Regions from separate parts of the Homo sapiens genome. Here all the other regions are linked to region 3. Evidence: promoter capture Hi-C in 16 types of primary human blood cells and fetal thymus (Javierre and others, 2016). All regions are on one chromosome and are shown on one strand. Each heading gives the region's core, a stretch centred on a gene start or on the middle of the fragment in contact. The rest is flanking DNA. Distances are from core to core; before and after follow the strand shown. Region 1 holds the start of FAM114A2 (family with sequence similarity 114 member A2). Region 2 holds the start of NUDCD2 (NudC domain containing 2). Region 3 holds the start of CEP120 (centrosomal protein 120).

What was found. Contacts are between HindIII fragments. The CHiCAGO score rates a contact against its expected background, and 5 or more counts as called.
Region 1: the fragment with the promoter of FAM114A2 here is called in contact with the fragment with the promoter of CEP120 in region 3 in 1 of 17 cell types (total CD4 T cells); the score reaches 9.8 in total CD4 T cells.
Region 2: a contact is called between the fragment with the promoter of NUDCD2 here and the fragment with the promoter of CEP120 in region 3, in 1 of 17 cell types (fetal thymus). The highest score is 5.5, in fetal thymus.

The regions. Positions count from the first base shown.
Region 1 is chr5:154,036,513-154,040,916 of GRCh38, reverse strand. FAM114A2 (family with sequence similarity 114 member A2) reads left to right here and starts at 2,007. Exons shown (of 14, transcript NM_018691.4): 1 at 2,007-2,060. It overlaps MFAP3 (microfibril associated protein 3), which reads right to left and starts at 1,950. Exons shown (of 3, transcript NM_005927.5): 1 at 1,906-1,950. The HindIII fragment of the contact is 2,878 bases long and covers 950-3,827 here.
Region 2 is chr5:163,457,278-163,461,401 of GRCh38, reverse strand. NUDCD2 (NudC domain containing 2) reads left to right here and starts at 1,300. Exons shown (of 4, transcript NM_145266.6): 1 at 1,300-1,540; 2 at 3,792-3,840. The coding sequence starts at 1,352. It overlaps HMMR (hyaluronan mediated motility receptor), which reads right to left and starts at 770. Exons shown (of 18, transcript NM_001142556.2): 1 at 664-770. The coding sequence starts at 709. It also overlaps a transcript of CCNG1 not described here. RefSeq lists enhancers at 524-583, 1,334-1,583 and a silencer at 914-1,003. The HindIII fragment of the contact is 3,644 bases long and covers 1-2,029 here.
Region 3 is chr5:123,421,215-123,425,556 of GRCh38, reverse strand. CEP120 (centrosomal protein 120) reads left to right here and starts at 2,154. Exons shown (of 20, transcript NM_001375405.1): 1 at 2,154-2,607. The coding sequence starts at 2,559. RefSeq lists a silencer at 2,454-2,613 and an enhancer at 1,943-2,888. The HindIII fragment of the contact is 3,797 bases long and covers 1-2,661 here.

The DNA of each region.
Region 1 (4,404 bases), core at 758-3,257, about 31 Mb before region 3:
AACTTATTAACTTTCCAGAGCTTCAGGCTCTGGAAACTATTGATGGAGAGAGGTGAAGATAAGAAAGACACCTATCTTGAGTTTTAGTAGGCAGAACACTCTAGAGAATCATTTGACTGGTTTTCTCACTCTGTAATTTTCAGACCATTTATATCAAATTAATTTGTGGTGCTTGTTAAAGATGCAGATTTCTTGACCCCACAGACTTATTGAATTGGGATCTCTAGGGGATGCCTGGGCATCTGCATTTTTAATGTGCATATAGGTTTATTGATTTACAAATCAAACTCATATTTCTTTTACTGGCATGACAATCACCGTAATTCAGTGTAATTCTCAAAAGTGTGGTGCAGGAACTCCTGGGTGTCCCTGACACTGTTTCAAAACAATTTACATAATATTAGGACATATCCCTTTTTCACTCACATTCTCACACAATATGGCACAATTTTCTAAAAGTTACATGATGATTGATATTGTAAGAGAATGAAGGTAGAAGTTACGAAAATCTAGCTGTCTTTTATTCAGCCAGACATTAAAGAGATTTGTAACAATGTAAAACAATGCCATTCTCAATAATTTTTCATTTTGGAAAATATCCTTTACAGAAATGCTATCTATGTTAACATATAATGAGTTTATTTTAAAATGAATAACCTTTGTTGAAAGTTGTTTTCTAAAATAGTAAATATTGATAGCTATTATAAACAAAAACCCTTTGAAGTTCTCAATACATTTTAAAAGTATAAAGAAATTCTAAGATCAAAAAGTTTGAGAACTGCTGCTATAATTATCAGCAGCATTTAAAAAATAAGTGGCTTCCCAAGATTCCATACTTTAGCCCCAAATTCTATGCATTTTCCATTACAACAGAAAATCAGAGGAAATGATCCATTTTATATTTAAGCAGGGGTTTTTTTGTTGTTGTTTTTTGGAATTTTAACAAGCTTCCAGGTGATATTGATGAACCTAAATTTAGAGAACCACTGTCAAAAGCAAAGGAAAATATCTGAAGAGTTTTAGAAGTGACAATTACTCTTATCTGGGAATTAAGATGATAATTCCGAGGGCATTAAATGGAGTTGGAAAACATGAGTTCTTAAAGGCTAAGTCCCTTCACCTCTCTGGGATTCAGTTTTTCTTATCTGTACAATAAGATTGATTTTAATATTTTACTAGCTCTGTCAGTCTGGATTTCATGCATTTTCACTGCTCGAGGGCAACAGAAGAGTTGCATCTTTCTGATGAGGTCCCAGGAGTAATCTTAGAGTCATAAATCAGATCATGTCATTCATCTGCTTAGAAACCTTCAATGGTTTTCCACTGGATTCCAAACAAAAATCAAACTCTTTATCCTTGCTCATAAGCCTTACAAGATTTGGGCTCAAGTCCCTGGCCTCATCTCTCTCCATTCTCACCTTGCTCCTTTTGCTCTAGCCAGTGGCCTTTGTCTTTTCCTTGACTTTGCTAAGTTTGTTCCCACTATATGGCCTTTGCACGCGCTATTCTCTCTGCCTGGAATGCTCTATTCCAGATTTTCATACGGCTTATTACTCTCCCACTTCGTTCCATCACATTATCCAGTCTAAATTTCTTTACAGCACTTACTACCACCTTAGATAATCCCGTTTGTTGACTTGTTTATAATCTGCTTTTCGCACTGCTTGAGAGCAGGGCCCTTCCGTTCGTTGACTGATGTGTCCCTGGAGCCCAGGGCAGTGCCTGGCAGGTATCTGGCTCTCAGTAAGTGTTCGATGACCGAACTCCCACACCCAGGCCAGACTTTCAAAAGAATGGCAAACATTTTCGCCTCCTGCACTCCCGACCCCAAGCCACAGGCTACGACTCACGCCTCGGCGCTCCTAGTAGTCCCCTCGCAGCGACCCCAACCAAGCCGTCACCTACCCGACCGCCGTCTAGCTCCTTCCGGCCTCAGCGGCGGCTTAACTCGGAAGTTTTCTCGGACACACCGGCACGCCTCTGCGCTGAAGGAGCACTTCCGGGGCAGTAGGAACGCCGAGTCGGCTGCCGTGGCTGTGCTGAGGGTGGCGGCCGGATAGGTGCGGAGCTTCCTGAACGAGGCAGGAGGGGTGCGAGGTTCAGGGGCAGGGCCCGGGCAGCCGAAGTCGTTAGGGAGGCGGTGACCTGACGGTGGGCGGCGGACATCTCGCGGCAGGGTCGAGGGCTGTGAAAGCGGTTTAGTGATTGAAGCGCTACGTTTGTGTGAGGAATTCTTGTCGTTGTCAGCGCCTGAGAACTTAGTTGGGAGCGGACGTTTACGTCGAATCTCTCGTTTGGGACCCCATTCTTGAATGTGGGAAGAAGTGAGAGCGCATGTTTGCTCATCTAGAGACAGCCGTATTAATAACGATAGGATACAAACCATCACCCCACCAAGTGATAGCAGCTGTTAACCTGTGGGCGGTTACGTGCCGGTCACTGTTCCAAGCCCCTCACATATCGCGTCACTGAATCTTTATAGGGACCCAGAACTCCATTTGACAGATGAGGAAACGGAGAGGCAGACAGGTGACCTGACTTCCCCACAATCGCTGCAGGACAGGAAGAAAGTAAACTCCAGAGCCCGTGCTCTTAGCTACTAAGCTGTACTGCTCTTCATTTTGGTAAATGGGGCGGGTGGAGTGTATATATACGTAATATATATGTGTGTGTGTAAGCGTATGCGTTTTTATTTCTTAAAAATATGGCTCAGCCGTATTTATTTACAGTTATTGGAATCTTTCTCCTCCAACTGAGAAAATAACTGGAGGAGAAACTACAATTATTTCTACACGCTTACTACACAATGCCTGGAAGACTTACAAAAACACTAAATAGTGCAGTTCCACGTACTTGGTGTTTATTCCTTTTTTTTTTTTAACCTTTCTCCTAGATTATGAATGAGTTGAGGAAAGAGATGGTACAGTCATTCTAATAACGATAGTAATGATAATATAAACAACCATCACCATAAAAAATTCTCTTCTGGCTTAGCTCAAATATCTGGCACAAATGAAAGAATAGAGATAACCAGTGTTTAATATTTTAGTAAAGGGACTGTTTTGGCAGGGCATGGTGGCTCACGCCTGTAATTTTAGCACTTTGGGAGGCTGAGGCAGGGGAAGATTGCTTGAGGCCAGGCCTAGGGTTCAAGACCAACCTGGCCAACATAGCGAGACCCTGTCTTTAAAAATATATTTTGGAGTATGTCCTTCCAGTCTTTCATGGAATTATATGAATTTATGTAATATGTATATTATATATTCTACATATAGTATACTGTATATATTTATGATGATGATAATGATGCGTTGCAACCTGGAGAGAGCATAAGGAAAAGATAGGAAACATTTATTCATATACACAAAACATTAATTGAACTTTGTGCAAAAACTGTCTCGTCTTTCCTATTAGATAGGCCCTTGGAGTGAATGGCTTACATTAGTTCTCTATCTCCACAGGTACTGTGGTACTACTTGGTACGTAGTAGGTACTCAAAAAATGTTTGCGAGTGAATGAATGGCTACTTCTAAGTTGGTTTGTATGTCAGTGAGTAGTTGTATCTGGATTTTTTCTCTATGTGTTTTGGAAATGTGTAATGTGTTTATATTATATGCCCATATATTCTGAACTCCATAGTGTTGTCTTAATCTACCTTTCTAGCTTCATGCCTTCCCATTGTTCTTCTCTCTGCCATGGTAACTACTCCCTACTGTAACTGTCCATGTTCCATACTGTCAGACCTCAGGCCTTTGGCTGTACCCTCATGTTATTTCCATATCCTTGAATCCTGTCATTGGCATCATCATCTGTCAAAATCATAAGCTTCTTTTAAGGCAGGTGTTGCCAACTCAGATGCCTACAGAGGTTAATCAGGTAGCATAATTTGAGTGAAGTGGATTTGCGTGGGGGATTGTAGGGAGCTGGAGAGCAACTGCCCTAGCTAAAAGGGCCCAGCGGCTATTTAGCACAAGCTAGTTATTACAGAGTTGAATGTGGGCCCGGTGTTGCTAGATCTTTTAATTTTACAAGTTAGAAGTTGGAAGCCTATATTTTTATATGAAGTCTGATTTTTAAATGTTGGCATCTAGTTTTTGCAAAGGTTAAATACTGTGCAGGCCAAATAAAAACATCTGTAGGCTGGATTTGGCACTTAAATTCCCAGTTTGTGACCACTACTCTAGGCTTATTTCAGGTACTTTGTTCATGAATTACGTTGTCTGATTCTAATGGAGTTCTGTTTTTTTTCAGCATTTTGTGTGTTGGATGGTCTGGCAGGGATGTTTCAGCATTTTGTGTGTTGGACTGAATGCAGCACCTGTTATAGTGCTGCATCCAGTCTGCCTTAGTTTTAATATGCCTTTCTTTTCTAATACATTAGAAACATTTTGATAGCATGGGTTG
Region 2 (4,124 bases), core at 51-2,550, about 40 Mb before region 3:
CAGTCCGGTCACTTTGGTAATGTAGCACTGAGCAAATTTAAGTCTCAGTCTTTTTATCAATAAAATAATAATAGGATTACCCCTTAGAGTTGGTGGGAAATTAACATAACTAATAATCGATGTAAAGCCTTAGTACGGTGCTTGAGGTATAAGTGGTCAATATCAGCCATAACTTCATTGTTTATGTTTTCAATAAGTGCTGCTGCTCTAATTTTACACCCATAAACTGCCTTTACTAATCTTCCTTCTTTTATGCCCAAATGGAATACACAAAAGAAATGCACAAGTTCAGACTACAAGTAATACTCCAGTGTTCTTATCAGTGAGGCCCTCTCGGACTTGAAAATCAAGTAGCTACCAACGTCTCGGGTCCATTCCCTTCGCCCTGCTGTAGTTTCTCCATTACCGCTGTTTATTGACAGTATTCCCCGCCTGAATGTAAGCCCCACGGGGCGGAGACTGTTTCACTGCGGTATCCTTAGCATCCTGATTAGTGCTTGGCATGTAACAGATGCTTAGAGCATATTTGAGAAAAATCAATCAACTGAATGAGCCCCAGCCCGACCCTAAAATCGCCTCCTGCTTGCCTCCCAAGAAGGGAGCTGAAAGAGGCAAAGGGCGTTAGGGCGTCTCCCGTCCCCCAGCTCTTTCCCCCTTACGCACCAGAAGGGTCATTGAATCGTTTCAAGGGCGCCTTAGGAAAGGACATGTTGACGGCCAGCTCCAGAAACTGAAGGTGACTGGCACTCCTCGACAACTGAATGCGGATTATCACTCCCTACCGGTTTCAAATTCAAATCTCCCCACATTCCCCACCCACCCCGGCGTTAGCCAATTGGAAAGCCAAACCCCTGGGCACACCAATCCCGCACAGGAACACGAAGAAAGAATGCTGGGTTCTGATTGCGTCCAATTAGCTGGCCTGCGAGTTTAGGCTGCCATCCAATAGGAGACCGTTACTGTTCCCCGCCCCACCCACCCAGTCATTCCCGGAGTTACTCAAGTGTAACCTAGCATTTGCGCAAGCGCACTTCCCTCCGGAGACGTTAGAAAGTGCATTTTGGCGTCACTTAGGGGACGGTGTAGTGAGTTCCGGCTTCACTGGTTCCAATTCTGTCCCATTGTTCGTTGCATGTGAACTTTTCTGGATTTCAGTTCTTTCATCCGGGGCCTGCCGGTGCCGTAAACGGCCATTCAAAGGGAAAAACGAACACGCACACCAAAGCGCTAGCTTGCGTTCCTGCGCATGCGCAGTGACCCGAGCGGAGAGGCCGAGGCGTAGCCTAAGCGTGGGATTCCGCGCGTGCGCTCGGCTCCGCCTGGTGCGGCCGCGGCCGGGAGGGACTGGATTATGTCGGCCCCGTTTGAGGAGCGGAGTGGGGTGGTACCGTGCGGGACCCCGTGGGGCCAGTGGTACCAGACCTTGGAGGAGGTGTTCATTGAAGTTCAGGTGCCGCCAGGCACGCGCGCCCAGGATATCCAGTGCGGCCTCCAGAGCCGGCATGTGGCGCTGTCGGTGGGCGGCCGCGAGATCCTCAAGGTAGCGGCAGCTCGGGGCTTGTGTTCAGTTTCCTCTTCCCAGACGCCCCCAGCCCCGTTTCCCTGAACGACTGTTGGGTGTCCCGACGGCTCCTGTGGCTGGCAGAAAGAGAAAGAGGATAACACTGACCAGGTTTGGGTCTGGTCAGAGCCCCCGCCTCTTCAGGGCAGGTGCTGAGTTGTGGAAATTTGAGGAGCCTATTTTCGTGTTTAGTTTTCAAACTAAGACTGCTGCTTCTGCTTCTCTGACGGGCTTCAGCTGGGAACAGATTAACTAGGTTGCTAAAGGAACAAATATTTCTTCCGTGCACTGAAGACAGGCAGGAAGACAACAGATAACGTACCTGCAGTGGAGAGGTTAAGCTCCTGTACGGAAGCGTAATTCATAAATAGATAAATATAGGAAAGGACAACAAAGAAAATAGGGATAGAATAACGGGCAGAGAATTTAGAGATGATGTCAGGTGATTAGTTTTCTCATCTAAAAGCTTGAAAATCCTGCATGTTTGTGGAGTGGTCAAGCAGGTGGTGAAGAGGTGTGTGCATAAAATAAGTAGTACTCCTTTTATTTCTTTTCACCAATGCTCTTTGGATCTGGACCCGCTTTTTCTTTGTTAAGTGTATAATTAAACTAACAGGTTGAAATTAGATTTAGTTCTCAGGTTAGATGCCCAAGATGTTTGATGGCAGTGTAATATGGTGAAGGGAGACTACTTGTTTCCTAGTTTTGTAAACTTGGGCGAGAGATTGTTCAGTGTCTCTATATCTTCCTTATCCACAAGATAAGGTAGTTATAGTACCCTTCTCATGGGATTGTTTTGAGCTTAACATGGTATTCACGTGTATGAAGAGCTTGGAGTATTCACTGGTATGTAATAAGTTCATACTATATGTTAGCTATTAGCTATTATATATATTACAGTATATGGAGGTGCTTTGAGTGCCTCAAGATTCGTGTGAAAGACATTATGTCAGCTTGGATCTCAGTTACTTTTCTGAATTGTACAATTCATAGTTTCCTCAACAATGGTTTTAGATTACGATTATAAATTAGTAAATCCAGTAACTTTCGGAATTTAGCAGTAGCTGCTGAATTTGGGATTTCTGATGTACGTATAGACCAGTGGGATTTTTTTCTCACTAATTTTGACATATTTTAAAATGTGGGCTTTTCCTAGTGACATTTAATTTCACTTTCTATAACTTAAATTTGGCAACAAATTAAAATGGATTTGAGTTTAGGCATTCTCTCTTTAAAAAAAAATATATATTTATTGAGACAGGGTCCCTGTCTCCCATGCTGGGGTGCAGGGGTGAGATTGTAGCTCACAGCAGCCTCAAACCCATGGGGTCAAGCAATCCACGTTGGCCTCCAAAGTCCTGGGATTACAGGCCTGAGCTACTGGGCCTGGTGCAGTCTCTTTTAAATTTATATTTTGTTTATTTTTTTAAAAAACATGAGTTTGTGAACAGTTAGTCACAACTAATCTATCAAATCTGGAATACGTAAAGTTTTTTTAATGCCGATTGCCCAACAAAAAGATTAAAACGTTTTTAAAAGTTTACTTTAAAAACAACATTTTGCCGGGTGCGGTAGCTCATGCCTGTAATCCTGGCACTTTGGAAGGCCTAGGCGGGCGGATCACAAGGTCAGGAGTTCGAGACCAGCCTGGCTAACACGGGGAAACCCCATCTCTACTAAAAATACAAAAATTAGCCGGGCGTGGTGGCGGGCGCCTGTAGTCCTAGCTACTTGGGAGGTTGAGGCAGGAGAATCGCTTGAACCCTGGAGGTGGAGGTTGCAGTGAGCCAGATCGTGCCACTGCAGCCTGGGCGACAGAGCGAAACTCTGTCTCAAAAAAAAAAAAAAAAAAAAAAAAAAAGACAACATTTTTTAGTTTTAGCAGGAGATCCCTTCTTGTGGTTAATTTAAATTGGTAGAATTAAAGCATTTCAGATATTAATTTCACATTTGGCCAGTGGTCAGTATTACTGTATCTTCTAAAAATTAAGGAGCCCTGATCTTTCTTTAGAGAGCTCTGTGTTCTTTGCCATAGTAAATATCCCTTGCAGTGTAAACTAGTTTCCATTTTACCTGCTGGGAGAAAATTTAGGGTTGTGCACCTATAAATGTCATGGTGAAGTGGTGGTATAAGATGTGGATTAGGTAGGAAAGTAGGTAAATCTTAATCATGAAAACTTTATAAAAATTAAATTCTGTATTTTTAGCACCTTATATGTTTATTTTTCAGGGCAAACTCTTTGATTCTACAATAGCTGATGAGGGAACATGGACTTTGGGTAAGGGTAATTACTATAATTCATCAAATTAAAATAATTTTGTCTTGATATCTTTTCCTCTTTTGTATTAGGTCTTTTTTGTCTTTGCAGCTTTGAAAGATAAAGCAATAGAAATGTGTTGAAAACCGTTGTATGTCAAAGTTACCTAGTGGGGGGAGAAAAAATTAGTTAGTTGTTTTTGGAAATATAAAATTTAATGAAGAACTTCTTGAGACCACCCTGGCCAACATGGCAAAACCCCGTTTATACTAAAAATACAAAAGTTAGCCGGGCATGGTGGCGCA
Region 3 (4,342 bases), core at 905-3,404:
CGTCAGATCTCCTGAGAACTCACTGACTATCAGGAGAATAGCATGGAGGAAACCACCCCCATGATTCAATTACCTCCATCTGGTCCCTTCCTTGACACTTGGGGGTTGTGGGGATTACAATTCAAAATGAGATTTTGGTGGGGGCACAAAGCCTAACCATATACATTAAAAAAGACAAGAGACATACCAACCATTGTATTTTGGAACTTGTTTGGATCCTGATTTGAAAAAACCGACTGCAAACAAATTATTAGACAATCAGAGAAATTTGAACAGTATATATTTAATGGGATTAAGAAATTTTTGTTAATTATTAAGTGTAATAATGGGATTGTGGTTAAATACTTAATATTTTAAGATTCTTTAAGAAGTCGTTATCTTTTTTTTTTTTTTTTTTTTTGAGACTGAGTCTTTCTCTGTGGCCCAGGCTGGAGCGCTGTGGCATGATACCGGCTCACTGCAACCTCTGCCTCATGATTTCAAGCGATTCTCGTGCCTCAGCCTTCTCGTGCTTCAGCCTCCCAAGTAGCTGGGATTTCTGGCTTGCGCTACCACGTCTGGCTAATTTTTGTATTTTTAGTAGAGACGGAGTTCTGCTATGTTGGCCAGGTTGGTCTCGAACTCCTGACTCAAGTGATCCGCCCACCTCAGCCTCCCAAAGTGCTGGGATTACAGATGTGAGCCACTACCACACCTGGCCAAAAAGTCTTCATCTTTTAGAAGTACGTATCCAAAAAGATGAATTGATGTGATGTTGGGGATTTCTTTAAAAATAACACAACAGATGAAGATGATTGGTCTTAAGTTGATAATCGTTGAAGCTGGGGTCTGGGTAACTGGGGGTTCATTATATCATTCTGCTTTCTTTAAAGTATGTTTGACATCTTCCACAAAAATAATGCATTGTTCAATGATGAATCCAAAGTAGATCATTACTTTGATTTTACATTGAATAGTGCTTCATTTTAAGAATGCCTGTGATAGGACCTGAAAGGGCCTTAGAAGTAATTAGTCCAATCTCTACATATTCCTCCTTTTCTTTTGGGCAGAAAGCAAAGAAGGAAGAATAAAGAAGAGGAAGAAGAAAACAATAGTGATATTATATTATTTGCTCTCAAAATAACTTCTAAATTTCCAAAACAAGGAAGCAATAGAAGAAAAAGAAAACAGCGAGATATTATATTTGCTCTCAAAACAACTTCTCAATTTACAAAACCAGAAAGTAATAGGAGAAGCCGCACTTATGTCCACTACCTAGTGCTATCTCTGCAGCTTTATTTTATTATGATTTACTTTTGTTTTCCGAAGCAGAATTTTTCCCAAACTTAATAGTGTCCACGATCGCTCCAACCAATTCGGTTATTTAAGTTTCAAGCTAGATAACCTCCAAAAGAACTTTGCCTTTGACTTGAATACATGCTTCTTGCAATTTGAGTAGTGTTTAGGAGGCCGTTCCCTTTACAAGTCTTGAACCGTTTCTTAAATCTGAATTTGGGAGACGTTAAGGGGAAAGGGTCGGCAGACAGCACCTCAATGCCTTGTTTATTTTTGGTTTTGAGTTTGCTAATAACTTTGTCATCGGGGGTGGAAGAACCTTTATATTTCATTGCCCACGTGACAGTGTTTTTGTTTTAGGGGTAATTTCTAAGGGACAGGAAATTCTCGGGGAGTTTACGTCAGCTTTAACAAGTACAGTAATTACCGTATTGAAGCTACTTGTTTTCAAAGGTCGGAAATTTGAGGTGCCGCGTGAGCACGATTTAGGGACTTTAGAGTTTAGATTTAAGTCATTATTTTTTTGTGATTTAATTTTTTAAGCAGTGTTGACACTGGGTACGTCAACTAAGCTAGGTTTTTTTGTTTTTTTAATCCCCACTAATATAACTCTCAGGTTGTGGCTGAAGCATAAAGCAGGTAATACGCTACACTCACGCTCCTTAAAGGCTACGCAGCTTCAGGAAGCGTTTACAGCAGTAGTGCGCTTGCGCAGCTGGTCCCACACCAAGTCGCCCGCCTCTCCTCGTCCGGCTAGCAGAGGGCGCTGTGAGGTAATGAAGGCGTCCTCCTTAGGGCTCTGGAACAGAGCGTAAAAGGGCGGGAGGCGAAGCTCGCTGACGGGCGTTCTAGCCTTGACTGCTCTGTCTCTATCACCCGTTGTCCTCCAACCTCCCCTGGGCACTGGGCCTGCGGGCCTGGTTGCTAGGCGGAAGCTGGGCGCGGCGGCGGCCGCTGCGGCCGCCCGGGCGTTTGAAAAGCGGCTACGCAGGCGGCAAAAGGTCCTCGGGTGGCGGGCTTGTCTCTGCTTGCAGACTGGCAGGGCTGCAGCGTGGCTTTTTCCTTGAGTCGGGGCACAGTTAGGATCTGGGCTGGCGGCCCGAGGCAGAGGAGCCGGGCGCGCTGCAGCAGACGGCGGTGGGACCTGGCTGCGGAGCGGGGTCCGGGCATCAGGGACCGGGGGCGGGCAGTGGGGGTCCCGCCGGGGGTCCCGGATTACCCGCGACTCAACTGGACCTCACTTCCCCCCAGCCGCCTTCGCCCCCGGACCGCTCACCGCAACCATGGTCTCCAAATCCGACCAATTGCTCATCGTCGTGTCCATCCTAGAAGGTGAGCAGCCTGAGGCTTGCTTTTGCAACTGCTGCCTCCCGAGTTTTAAAAGCTTAGTGTGGGACCGAGGCCTTGTTAACCTTAAGAACCCTGTCATCTGTGCTTTTGTGGTCCCCACAGACTTGTTCAAAGTTGTACGTAGTGAGGTCTGTTAGGCAATTGATTTAAAAATCTCTCCAGGGATATGAGCGCTATTAGGGATAAGTGATATTTAGCGTGACTAGCCGTAGCCCCAGAGAATCTAGAGAAAACGATTTTCATCCAAAGCAGCACGTCGATGGCTTTTATATATGAGCTGAACGTGGTCCTGAGAAGCGCGTTCTGATCAGCGGTTCCCAATAATAGCACTTGTAAGAGCTTTGACTTGAATACAGGCTTCCTGCGATTCCAGAAGTGTTCCGGAGGCAATTCCCTTTACACGTCTTGCTGGAGGACTCAGGGGACTACAGTTCTTAAGAGGGTGTATTATACATTCCTTAAAAGGTGTGTTTTGGATGAATGACATTGGTTTATTGGGACTCATTGAGTGTCAGACACTGTGCTGGGAATGTAAGAATGAAACAGTCCTGATTCTAAAAAGCTAAGGATGTAGCAAGGAGAGTGTGTCAGCAAATAATTCATCAGGATGTGGAAGACCCTAATGAATGACCACCTCTGTCTAAGGAAACTGCGGAAGTTTCACTAGAGGAGGTGGCATTTTTTGGGGTCCTACAGATGATTAGGAATTTGTCAGGTGAAAAAAGGAAGGGCATTCCAGGCAAAGAGAAGAGCAGGGAGCACTTAAAGTATGGAAAAGCAAGACACGTTTTGCCTTGCTTAATTAAATTCACTCAGTAAACATTGGTTAAATTCAGTGTGGTTGGAGAACAGATTTGCAAGAAAGTGGAGGGCATAGGAGATAACAGGTGAATTGAGGACACTTTACGAATAGTATGTTAAGAAGGAGTCATCTTGAGCCAGAGCAGAAGCCTGGCTGCATTTTTTCCCCCATGGGAGAGTGTTTTATAAAGGCCTGGCACTGTGTGAGGGATGAGAGCAAAGGAAACATTGTAATCCTAATCTTTGAATTTTGGAACAAGAGACTGACCAGAAAAGCCATAAAGATTTGGAGCACTATTAACTGTTAGTTTACTTATTGTTTAAAAACATAGGACTGAAATAACCTTAAAATTTGGTTAACAACAGTTTTTAGACTTATAACTGACCATGCTATGAGGAAACAAATACCTCCATTCCCTCCAAGGATGTAGAGGTCTGTCCACGTGGGGAGATCACAGGACACAATATGTTGGGGTATAATATTTAAAATATGTGATATGTACTGTAAATATAGGTTTGAGGGTAGGGTGGGTGGGATGGCTGAAGTTCTTTAAATAATAAGTGAGCTTTAGATATGTGACAATAGAATTCTATGGACAACCCAGGCCAGTCTGACAACCCAGGACATAAATGCAATTCATTTGGGGAAGCTAGTTTTAGAGCAGCAGAAAATGAGGTCCTGAGAGAGGCCTGTTAGTGCTAATTGGGAGAGCTGTGCGATGTGTGTTAATATTCCTAATACAGAGTTTCAAGTGAGAGCCTCAGGCTTAAACTCAAAAGGTTAGCAGTCAAGGTCTTTCTGACCAGCTTGATTCCCAACCAAGTAGCTTGTGCCGGGGTGAGCATGGTGGGTGGAACATTGAAAAGATCAGCAAGATGACCAGGGTAGAGGAAGGTGAATATTTAGAAATGTCAT